Linked DNA regions of Homo sapiens: regions 2, 3 and 4 are each linked to region 1. The links are contacts of gene promoters, found by promoter capture Hi-C in blood cells and fetal thymus (Javierre and others, 2016). All regions are on one chromosome and are shown on one strand. The core of a region is centred on a gene start or on the middle of the fragment in contact, and the rest is flanking DNA. Distances in the headings are between cores, read along the strand shown. Region 1 holds the start of KANK2 (KN motif and ankyrin repeat domains 2). Region 2 overlaps SMARCA4 (SWI/SNF related BAF chromatin remodeling complex subunit ATPase 4). Region 3 holds the start of RGL3 (ral guanine nucleotide dissociation stimulator like 3). Region 4 overlaps SMARCA4 (SWI/SNF related BAF chromatin remodeling complex subunit ATPase 4).

Region 1 (2,700 bases), core at 129-2,628:
CCACTGTGCCTGGCTTTTTTTTCTTTTTCTTTTTTTTTTTTTTAGACAGAGTTTCACTCTGTCACCCAGGCTGCAGTGCAGTGGTGCAATCTCGGCTCACGGCAACCTCCACCTCCCAGATTCAAGTTATTCTCATACCTCAGCCTCCCGAGTAGCTGGGATTACAGATGTGCACCACCATGCCAGGATAGTTTTTGTATTTTTAGTAGAGAAGGGGTTTCACCATGTTGGCCAGGCTGGTCTTGAACTCCTGACCTCAGATGATCCACCCACCTCGGACTCCCAAAGTGCTGGGATTACAGGCATGAGCCATTTCTCGGCCCCAGGTGGTTTTTTGTATTTTGTTTTTTGTAGAGATGGCGTCTTACCATATTGCCAAAGCTGGTCTCCAACTCCTTGGCTCAAATAATCCGCCCACCTTGGCCTCCCAAAGTGCTACGATTACAGGCATGAGCCACTGCGCCTGGCCTAATTTTTTTTCACTTAAAAATTTTTTTGCATAGACAGGGTCTTGCTATGTTGCCCAGGCTGGTCTCGAACTCCTGAGTTCAAGCAGTCCTCTTGCCTTGGCCTCCCTAAGCACTGAGATTACAGGTGTGAGCCACCTCGCCGGCTTAATAATATTTATTAAGCCCTTGCTGAGTGGCTGGCTGTGTACTAAAAGGGCTCCCAGAAAGATCTCTGCAAAAGTAGGCCACTCCATTTATGAGAGTTTTTAACCCGAAGGGCCTCCTTCCTGATGGTTAGGCCCCTTCCTAATGGTCAGTGAATCTTCTCAACGCTCCTATCAGGTAGCTAACATGATCATCTCCATTTTACAGATGAATAAACTGAGGCACAGAGCAGCAAAAGTTTGGTGGGTCTGGGATGGGAATGCAGGTCTGGCTGGCGCCGGCGCCCAGGACTCTGCAGCCTCCCTTCTCGCGCGGCGGTCACGCCACCGTGTGCCAGGACTGCGCTGGGCCGCTTCCAGCCCTGGGCCGCCTGGGGGAGGGGTGACCTCCCGCTGCCGCGCCCGCCCCGCGCGCCCTCCCCGAGCTGGGCCCCGGCCAGCTCCACCCCCTCCCGCCGCCGAGCCGTTCCGCCCCCCGCAGCGGCCCAGGGACAGCAGGCGGTGGGGGGGAGGCCGGCAGTGGGAGGACCCTGCCTCGGGGACTTAGGGAGGAAGGAAGGACGAGGCCGGACACCCCGGCGCGCACACACACCTGCTGTCCAGGTGAGATCCAGTCTCCAACCAGCGTCTCTCCATCCCCACCCCCCACCGCGGCCGGGGCGCCCGGGCGGCTGGAGGGGGCGGTGCCGGCTGGGGGGGCGGGACCAGCCGGAGGGGGCGTGGTGCGGGCGGAGCCACCTCCGAGGGCCGGGCGCCCAGGCTGCGGCGCGCGCGAAGACGCTCGGGCGGCGGGACCCAGGGAAGGCAGCGGCCGGAGCGCGCAAGGCGAGTGGGACCCGGGGCTGGGTAGGGGTTCAAGTCTGGTTCGGGGATCGAGTGTGCACCCCCTCCACACACACCTACTACCCTACCCCCCGCCTCCAACCCTGGGACACGACCTCGCTGGTCTCAACGAGCCGCTGCCTCCAACTCCACCTTCTGTGCCCAAACTTTCCAGACTTGGAGTGTCTGTCCCCGCGTCCCTGCCCCCTCCTCGTCTTTGACCCCATACCCCCATCGATTCCTCCCAGTACCCCCCATCGATTCCTCGTGCCCTGCCCGTTTCTCCTGTCTTGGCTCCCCTCTGCCCGCTCTCCCCTGTCTCTGTCCCACTTTCTGCCTCTGTTCCTCCCCGGCTCTGCCCTCTCCCCGCACTGTCCCCCCTCGCCCTCCTCCGCGGCCATGCCCCAGACGGCGGGAAGGCGGCCGGGCGTCCGGCCGGGCTGGGCCTGGGCTTGGCGGCTGGGCCGGCGTGGGGAGCGGCAGCTGTTTGCCATTAGCCCGGGATCCCACAGGCCCCGCCCCCTCTCTGCACGGGGCGGGGTCCTTCTCGCCTCCCCCCACCCCGAGTTTGGGGCGGGAAGACCCCCCCCCACCACCACCACCGACCTCCGCGATGTGCAGGCCGGTCTTGGGTGGTGGGTTGGGGAGACCCGCGCCCCTTCCCTGCGCTCCCTACCTGTCCCCTCTTATAGGCTCCAGTCTCTCCATCTCTGTCTTATCCTGTCACCCCTTCCCCATTCCCCAGGGGTCCCATGGCGAGAGAAGGGTCTCAGCCACAGACATCCATCTCCCCCACCACACCCCCTCGTCTCCTTTCTCTTCCCCTTACTCGGGACGTGCTGGTCCTCATCGAGGGCGGTGAGATGACTGAGTACCCTCAGACCTCAGTCTCCGTATCTGGGAAACGGGTAGAGATATCTGATGTGGAGTCTGAGGGTGGTGGCTTGGTGGGCAGTGGGGGGATCCACCAGGCTTAGGTTCATGTTCAGGCCCAGCCACTTCCCCATGGCCCCAGTGACCCCGAGGAAGCCACTGTACCTTTCTGTACCCTCTGCATCCCCTGTCTGTGAAACGGGGCGATAAGTGCCCATCTCATAGAATTGTCATGACAATTAAAAGAGTTGATGTTAGGCTGGGTGCAGTGGCTCATGCCTGTAATCCCAGCACTTTGGGAGGCCAAGGCGGGCGGATCACCTGAGGTCAGGAGTTCGAGACCAGCCTGACCAACATGGAGAAACACCATCTCTACTAAAAATACAGAATTA
Region 2 (2,700 bases), core at 157-2,656, 210 kb after region 1:
GCAGGGCACAGCAGAGAGGGAGATAGCCCGGGGCACTCCTCAGGACCGGGCCTCAGGGGACAGCAAACAAGATTCCTGATAGACGCGCCCAGGTCATGCCTTTTCAGTGGTGTGAGCCAGGTTCTGGCGTCAGGCGGGCCAAGGTTTTCATGCAGCTCTGGCATGGATGAGGCGCAGGGCGGTGGGAATCTATTTCAACTGCACACCTCAGCATTCTCACCTCAAAACTGAGGCAACCCCTCGGAGTGACCCTAGAGGCTTGGTCTGAAGGTTACGAAGGTTACATGCGAAGGTTATGTGGGCTAATTCTCTTAATCAGTCTTTCTGCACATACTCATTGAGCACCAACTGTATGCCAGGGACCATTTTAAGTGCAGGGCCTTAGCACTAAACAAGAACAACAAAGCAAGGAACTCTCAGTCTCATTAGAAAACACAGGCCATAAAGGAGATTTAAAAAAAATAAAATATCCACTGCAATTCCAGAGAGTGGCTGGAAGTGACAGGAAGGGCCTCCATGAGGAGGGAACCCCAGCAATCAGGCCTGAATGAGTAGAAGGAGCCATGCACAGCCTGTGCAAAGGTCCTGGGGCAGGAACAAGTCTAACTTGTTAAATAAATGAAAAGAGGAACAGAGAGACTGGGATGGGTGAGGAAGGATGCTGGGCAGGAGTGGACATAAGGCAAAGCTTATTGGGCAGATAATTGAAGCTACAGGCAGGTTTTAATCCACGGAGTAGATCTGATATCAATCATAAAAAGAGAATTCATGCCAGGTGCGGTGGCTCATGCCTGTAATCCCAGCACTTTGGGAGCATCTGAGGTCAGGAGCTCGAGACCAGCCTGACCAACATGGAGAAACCCTGCCTCTACTAAAATAAATACAAAATTAGCCAGGTGTGGTGGCGCATGCCTATAATCCCAGCTACTCAGGAGGCTGAGGCAGAAGAATCGCTTGAAGCCAGGAGATGCAGGTTGCAGTGAACCGAGATTGTGCCATTGCACTCCAGCGTGGGCAACAAGAGTGAAACTCCGTCTCAAAAAAAAAAAAAGAGAGAGAACTCAAACTGCTGTGTGGGAAACAGACCGCAGCCAGGGTGGGAGCAGGGAGGTGAGGAAGGAGGTGTAGGCCAAGTGGCAGTGGTGGGCACAGGGCACTGTTTGCTAGAGTGGGGGAGAAAGTTGAGTGGCTTCCCCAGGGGGACATGGGGGACACAGGGCAGTGACCTTGGCAACTGGGCCCCGCCCTCACCTGTACTCGCGCTCCTGCAGGATCTCCACAGGGTCGAGGCCCCGCGGCTTCTGGATGGGGGTGATGCGGCTCTGCTTCTGGTGCAGTGGCACCATGGGCGCGGGCTGGGCCGGCTGCCCGGGGGACTGGGTCTGCGGTGGCATCACGGGCGAGGCGGCGGGTGGGACGGCAGGGGGCGCGGGGGAAGGGCGGCCCGTTGGCTGCGGGGGAATCAGCTTCTGAGGGGTGCTCGTGGGGGCAGCAGCATTCGCCATGGGTCCTGGGAGAAGGCAAGGGGCCAGGGCGTCATGTTGAGCTCTGGGGCCCATCCCGGGCTGGAAATGGAAAGCTGCTGAGCTGCTTGAGGCACTGGGGACAGGCAGACCCCGCCCATCTCCCACCTTTCACCCAGGGGTGTCCTTCACACCTGCCTTGGGCTCCAACCTCCTCCAGATCTCAGCCTCACCCTCGTCCTTCACACCCTCCACTGGGGCCAGCCCCAGGCTCCCAAGGCCTTTTTGTTCTGTCTGTGGCTCTATGGCAGCATTTCCTGTCATCTCCTCCTAGTGCCAACTAAATCCAGTGGAAGCAATTTGCCCCTCAATGCCCATCGCTAAACCTCAGGCTCCAAGAGGATGGGTAATGAGTCCCACTGCCTCTTTGAGCCCAACAGATGGGAGCCTGCAGCACTTACTGAGCAATTACATATACAGGGCTCAGGGACTGGGTGAAGGCCACAAGCTGTCAGAGGAGGGATGAACGACAGCCTTTGGGAACTGACTGGCTACAGGGGAGACCCGGGGACCACCACAAGAAAAGTACAGGCTGCAGTTCAGCCTGACCACCCTCGGCCCTTTCTCCCTGACAAAGCTCATCTCAAGGACCCAAGCTTGAGATGGGGAGTAAGGGCACGGGTGCACCACCATAGAAGAGGGAGCTCACCTTCAGGCCAGGGCTTGGGAGGCCCTCCAGGAGGCTGGCCTGGCATCCCGGGGGGCACGCCCGAGGGTCCTGGGGGAGGCATGTTGGGCCCTCCCATACCTACATGTAGGGAGAAACAAAAGAGAAAACAGTGCGTCCCAGGTTTATGCCTGCGCCCAGCCCCGTGGGCAGCCCTGGCTCCAGGGGACACAGCAGATACACCTATTAACCAGCGGCCCCAGGGGAAGCGGGGAGCTGGGGAAGCAGCATTTAGCTGCCCCCACCACCCGAGCACCCAGAAGTGCAGTATGGGCCCGTGCAATCCCAAACCGGGGAACCCAGTCGGCAACAGAGCACGGTCTGTCCACCCCGCCACCCACGCCCCAGCCATTCGCTCTGAGACACCTGAGGGCCAGGGCAGCCAGTCTTACCATGAGGCCTGCTGTAATTTGGAGGTGCCGGGCCGGGACCCGGGCCGGGGCCAGGGCCAGGGCCAGGGCCGGGTCCTGTTGCGGACACCGAGGGTGGAGGTAGCGTTGGCATCTGCTG
Region 3 (2,700 bases), core at 93-2,592, 220 kb before region 1:
AGCTGGGTCCGCCCCGGCCTCAGAGTTGCGCAATAAATGTTACCGACCATGCCCCTGGGTATTCATCTGTTTTTGACCCTGCACCACCCAAGAGACGGCTGTCCCTGAAAACCCAGGGCCACAGACTGCCTCCTCCAACCTGGGTCATGATGACTCCCATCAGCTAGTGACGCAGATGGAGCTTAAAAATGGGAGATGGCCCGATGTAGTGGTTTTATGCCTGTAATCCCAGTATTTTGGGAGGCTGAGTTGGGAGGATCACTTGAGTCCAGGAGCTCCAGGCTGCAGTGAGCTATGATCGTGCTACTGCACTCCAGCCTGGGCCACAGAGCCAGACCCTGTCTCAATAAATAAAATAAGGGCGGGGTGCAGTGGCTCATTCATACCTATATTCCCAGCACTTTGGGAGGCTGAGCTGGGTGTGTCGCTTGAGCCCAGGGGTTCCAGACTAGCCTGGGCAACATGGTGAAAACCAGTTTTTACCAAAAAAAAAAAAAAAAAAAAAAAAAAAAAAAAAAAAGCTGAGCATGGTGGCATATGCCTGTAGTCCCAGCTACTTGGGAGACTGAGGCAGGAGAATGGATTGAACCCAGGAGGCGGAGATTGCAGTGAGCCAAGATCAAGCCACTGCACTGCAGCCTTGGCAACAGGAGTGAGACCCTGTCTCTAAAAAATAATAAGGCTGGGCGCCGTGGTTCATGCCTGTAATCCCAGCATTTTGGGAGGCTGAGGTGGGCGAATCTCTTGAGGCCAGGAGTTTGAGACCAGCCTGGCAAGTATGGCAAAACCCCGCCTCTACAAAAAATACAAAAATTAGCTGAGCATGGTGGCGGCACCTGTAATCCTAGCTACTTGGGAGGCTGAGGCACAAGAATCCTTTGAATCTGGGAGGCGGAGGTTGCAGTGAGTTAAGATCAAGCCACTGTACTCCAGCATGGGTGACAGAACGAGACTCCATCTCAAAATAATAGCAATAATAATAAAAAGTGGAAGATGCCCCCACACTTGATCAAGCTAGCCCCTTCCACTGGAGGACAGAGGACTCTGGTCTGGGGACACACACATGCCCCCACACAGGAGCTCCCCCACATCTGGGGATACAAAAAAGACCCCTTGGGGACAGATATGTCCTTTCTTCTGGGGACAGATTGATAGGCACCCAGCGGAAGAGCCAGGACCTCTCCTGGGCTGGCGCTGGGTCCGGCTGGAGGCACCCAGAGGCTGGGTCCGGCCTGCCCTGCCCCGCCCCGCCCCAGCAGCTCGGCCGCTCCGCCCCTCTGGCCTCAGCGCCCGGCCACTGCCCGCCGCCCGCCACCCGCCACCCGCCGGCCCTTCCGCCTCACTCAGCGGCGCCACTGAGAGGGACGGGCGCCGGCCATGGAGCGCACAGCAGGCAAAGAGCTGGCCCTGGTAAGGGGACAAGGGATCCCCGGACCCCGCATCCCTGGTGACCCGCAGGTCCAGAAACTCCAAGCGCCCGCCCGTCGGACGGTATCTGCTCCCAATCTGAACTTGCCCTGGAGTCCCCTCCTGGGGACTCGCGGCCCTTGACCCAGTGAAGCGACTGGTTCCTCTTAGGGATGGGGGCGCGAGTCTCTGAGCGCAGTCGGCAGAAAGAGCTAGAGACAGGTTCTATTAGACTGGGCCCTGGGACATCCCCAAATGCCACCCCATGTCCTCAGGACCTGGGAGGAGGGGACCCGCAGCGAGGAGGGGACTAGCCTGGGACCCCAGCCCTAGTCTCGCAGCTTCTGGCCGGGAAGGGGCGTGGGGATGCAGCAGGAGGACTCGGCCCGAGTCCGAGCGGCCAAGGAGGCTGAGGCCCCAGGACCTGTGCCCCTTTGGTGCCCTGAGTCCGCCTGTGCGTCCAGGCACCGCTGCAGGACTGGGGTGAAGAGACCGAGGACGGCGCGGTGTACAGTGTCTCCCTGCGGCGGCAGCGCAGTCAGCGCAGGAGCCCGGCGGAGGGCCCCGGGGGCAGCCAGGTGAGGAGGGGGTTTGGTGGGTGGCGCGGGGCCGGAAGCGACCAGTTGAGGGCGGAGCTGGAGAGCCGAGCACAGGCCGCCAGGTGCAGTGGGCGGAAGGAAGGGAGGGGCTCGGAGGCGACCAGATGAGGCGACCAGGTAGAAAGGGGACTGGGGGCGGCCAGGTAAGTGGGGGGAGATCCAGGGAATGGGGTGGGGCCAGGCGATGGCCGCGCAGTTCCCGAGAGGAGCCTAGGGACAACTTGGTAAGGACAGAACTGGACGGCAGAGTTGGGAAAGGCAGGTTTAGAGGGCCGGGGCTGGAAGGTGGAATGGGGTTGGTTTAGAAGTGGCTAGGTGAGGGCGGATGGGGCAGCCAGTGAAGCGCGACAGGAGGGCTGAGGGAAGCCCTGGGTGGAAAAGAGTGTGTGGGGCGGGGGCGGGGGGGTGGGGGGAGGGGACGGGAGGGGGAGGGGACGGGAGAGGGAGTAGGGGACAGGGCATGGGAGAGGGAGGGTTTCCAGGGCAAGTTGCAGGAGCTATTTGTGGATGGGGAGGAACAATAACTTCAAGCGGGCAGGGAGTGGGGCACACACCTATAATCCCTGCGCTTCGAGAGACCAAGGCAGAAGGCCAGGAATTGGAGACCAGCCTGGACAACACAGCAAGATTCTCTCTAATAAAAATAAAAATTAAAAAACTAGCTGTGCGTGATGATGCCCAGCAGTGGTCCCAG
Region 4 (2,700 bases), core at 36-2,535, 140 kb after region 1:
GGCTGGCCCCGCCGTCTGTTTGGGTGTCCTGAGTGCGCCTTGTCTTGCTTCTGTTTACCACGCTGGAAAATGGCAGCGACAACATGGTGGCTTCCCTGGTTCTGTTGCTGGGGTCCTGATGTCACCAAGGGGCAGACGGGCCAGGCTTGCCTCCAGGAAGCTGCTCGTGAGCAGGATCCCGGAAGGCCTCCTGCTTGTTTGGTGTTTGTGTGCATCACGAAGCCCCTGACCCAGCTTCTAACATGAGAGCCTCCTGAGATGCAGACGTTACACACGGGAGCCAGAATCCTGTCCCTGCACCTCCCCTGGCCTTGACAACCGCCATCATCCCCTGCTTGCTGGGCCAGCCACACTTTACACACACTAAACTCTGAAGCAGGCACCAGTGCCAGGCCAGCCGTGCTGAGGAGGAAATTGAGGTGGGAGTGAATCTCCTGGCCTGGACACAGCCCGCCTTGAGCCTCTGCCTTCCAGGAGTGTCCTTCCCCAACGTGTGTTCATGAAGTACATCTCCCCATCTCCTGCCAGGAGGTGTTTTTGGTCCTGGGTGTGGGACCAGCCGGTCCAGCATGGGAGCACATACCCTTCTCAGACTGCATTCCCATCGTGGGCCCTCCCTGGAGGCACAGGCTTCCTTTTTCCTATGAGCGGGCTGGTGGCCGGCTCTGCCACAGGCAACTGTTGGTAAACCCAGTCCACAGGCTCAGAAAATAAGAACACACAGTGGATGCGCTTGCTGCTCGGTGACCCTGGAGAAAGACACGACTCCCCTCTGAGTCGGGAAATGTGTGTCCCATCTGCAGCTCGGGCAGAGCGGGCCTGTACCTCTTCCCTCTCCTAAGCCGGCACATCCTGTTCTCCACTCTACGGAATTTTATAAGCAAAGAGCTCTCCTCTCTCTTCATGATGGCAGCATCCACCCTATACCTGTTACAATAAGGCACAGCAAGAGTTGCGCTTTACACTGTGAAGCAGGACGTGCAGCACAGGCAGGGGCAACAGAAGAACCCCAATGCGATAGTCTCTTCTATGAAAAGCAGCGCGCTTTGCCATTTTCCATTCTATTACATTTTTAAAGATATGGTGGCTCGTGCCTGTAATCCCAGCACTTTGGGAGGCCAACGTGGGAGGATTGCTTGAGCCCAGGAGTTTGAGACCAGCCTGGACAACATGGCAAAACCCCATTTCTATTTGACTGGGGGAAAAAAAAGCCAGTTTTGTGATCCATTCAATGCCCTTAGTGGCCAGCAAACAGTGCAGACTCTTGGCTTGAAACGCCCTGCCCTGTGGCCATGGGGGGCTTACTGCACACTGTGGCCCTTGCCCTGGAGGGCGGCTCCCTATGCAGAGAGCCCAGGAAGTGAGACCCCAGGGCTGTGACAGCAGAAGGCTTTATAATAAGCACCCCACCACCCCAACAGCCACCTCCATCAGGCTAATGAGAAACAGCTACAGGCAGCAAAAAAAAAACAAGGTGCGGCTGGGCGCAGTGGCTCACGCCTGTAACCCCAGAACTTTGGGAGGCTGAGGTGGGTGGATCACGAAGTCCGGAGTTCAAGACCAGCCTGGCCAAGATAGTGATACCCCGTCTCTACTAAAAATACAAAAATGAGCCAGGCGTGGTGACAGGCACCTGCAATCCCAGCTACTCGGGAGGCTGAGGCAGGAGAATCACCTGAACCTGGGTGGCAGAGGTTGCAGTGAGCCGAGATCGCACCACTGCATTCTAGCCTGGGCGACAGAGTGAGACTCTGTCTCAAAAAACAAACAAAAACAAAACACAAAACCAAGGTACAAGAGCACCCCTTCCCAGACCTCTAGGAGAATTACGTTCTGGATGAATCAAGACCACCCAGTTGCCGGTCTGAGGATTCCGCTCTGGTGCAGAGTTCCCTGGAGGTCCTGTCCTCAGGCTTCCCTGCAACAGGCAGGGTGCTGAGAGCCTCCCTCACCTCTATATTAAAGAGGGACATGCTGCAGCCTCCCCGCACTTGGAATGAAACCCGGAGTCCTCTGGATAGGCGCCACCACCTTTGATGTCAGTGCCCCTAGCTCCGCTCCCATGCTCGTGTCAAGGCCTACAAAGGGGAGTCCACCCCCATGGGAATGTGGGCTCTGACCTCATCTCAGGGCAAACATCACCTCCTCTGACCCCCACACACACCCAGCCCACACCTCTTAATAGCTGACTTAACACCAATGCACACATCATGCAGTGGCGTGATCTCGGCTCACTGCAACCTCTGCCTCCAGGGTTCAAGCGATTCTCCTGCCTCAGCCTCCAAGTAGCTGGCATTACAGGTGCACCACCACACCTAGCTAATTTTTGTATTGTTAGTAGAGACGGGTTTCACCATGTTGGTCAGGCTGGTCTCGAACTCCTGACCTCCTGATCCACCCACCTTGGCCTCCCAAAAGTGCTGGGATCACAGGCTGAGCCACCGCACCTGGCCCAATGCACAGATCTTAAGCATGAGGCTAAAGATGCGCTCCTGTCAGTCCTTCCCCCAGGGATGATCCTGGGCCGAGGTTGGCTGCTTCTTCAAGTTGATGATGCAGAAACACACAGGGGAGCCCCCAAACCTGGCCTGGCCTCCTGCCTCCTTGCTGTCCCTGTTGCCGAGTGCAGCAGCAGGTCCCGAGGTGGGCACACACCAGCCATGCCCAGTTCCCGCTGCCGGGCATCTGGGCTGTGCTCAG

The links. Contacts are between HindIII fragments. The CHiCAGO score rates a contact against its expected background, and 5 or more counts as called.
Region 2: a contact is called between a fragment that was not itself captured here and the fragment with the promoter of KANK2 in region 1, in 1 of 17 cell types (endothelial precursors). The highest score is 6.8, in endothelial precursors.
Region 3: a contact is called between the fragment with the promoter of RGL3 here and the fragment with the promoter of KANK2 in region 1, in 2 of 17 cell types (M0 macrophages and neutrophils). The highest score is 7.6, in M0 macrophages.
Region 4: a contact is called between a fragment that was not itself captured here and the fragment with the promoter of KANK2 in region 1, in 1 of 17 cell types (endothelial precursors). The highest score is 5.5, in endothelial precursors.

What each region holds. Positions count from the first base shown.
Region 1 is chr19:11,196,223-11,198,922 of GRCh38, reverse strand. KANK2 (KN motif and ankyrin repeat domains 2) reads left to right here and starts at 1,378. Exons shown (of 13, transcript NM_001136191.3): 1 at 1,378-1,438. RefSeq lists a silencer at 895-1,514. The HindIII fragment of the contact is 22,502 bases long and covers 1-2,700 here.
Region 2 is chr19:10,986,476-10,989,175 of GRCh38, reverse strand. It overlaps SMARCA4 (SWI/SNF related BAF chromatin remodeling complex subunit ATPase 4), which reads right to left. Exons shown (of 35, transcript NM_003072.5): 4 at 2,583-2,700; 5 at 2,173-2,271; 6 at 1,252-1,510. Among named protein-coding and RNA genes, the nearest start is that of SMARCA4, 27 kb to the right of the region's middle. The HindIII fragment of the contact is 1,431 bases long and covers 691-2,121 here.
Region 3 is chr19:11,417,956-11,420,655 of GRCh38, reverse strand. It overlaps RGL3 (ral guanine nucleotide dissociation stimulator like 3), which reads left to right and starts at 1,342. Exons shown (of 19, transcript NM_001035223.4): 1 at 1,342-1,410; 2 at 1,872-1,985. The coding sequence starts at 1,378. It overlaps ODAD3 (outer dynein arm docking complex subunit 3), which reads left to right. Exons shown (of 13, transcript NM_145045.5): 13 at 1-51. The HindIII fragment of the contact is 8,157 bases long and covers 1-2,700 here.
Region 4 is chr19:11,054,266-11,056,965 of GRCh38, reverse strand. The region is part of intron 30 of SMARCA4 (SWI/SNF related BAF chromatin remodeling complex subunit ATPase 4); the gene reads right to left. Among named protein-coding and RNA genes, the nearest start is that of LDLR, 34 kb to the left of the region's middle. RefSeq lists an enhancer at 1-353. The HindIII fragment of the contact is 8,776 bases long and covers 1-2,700 here.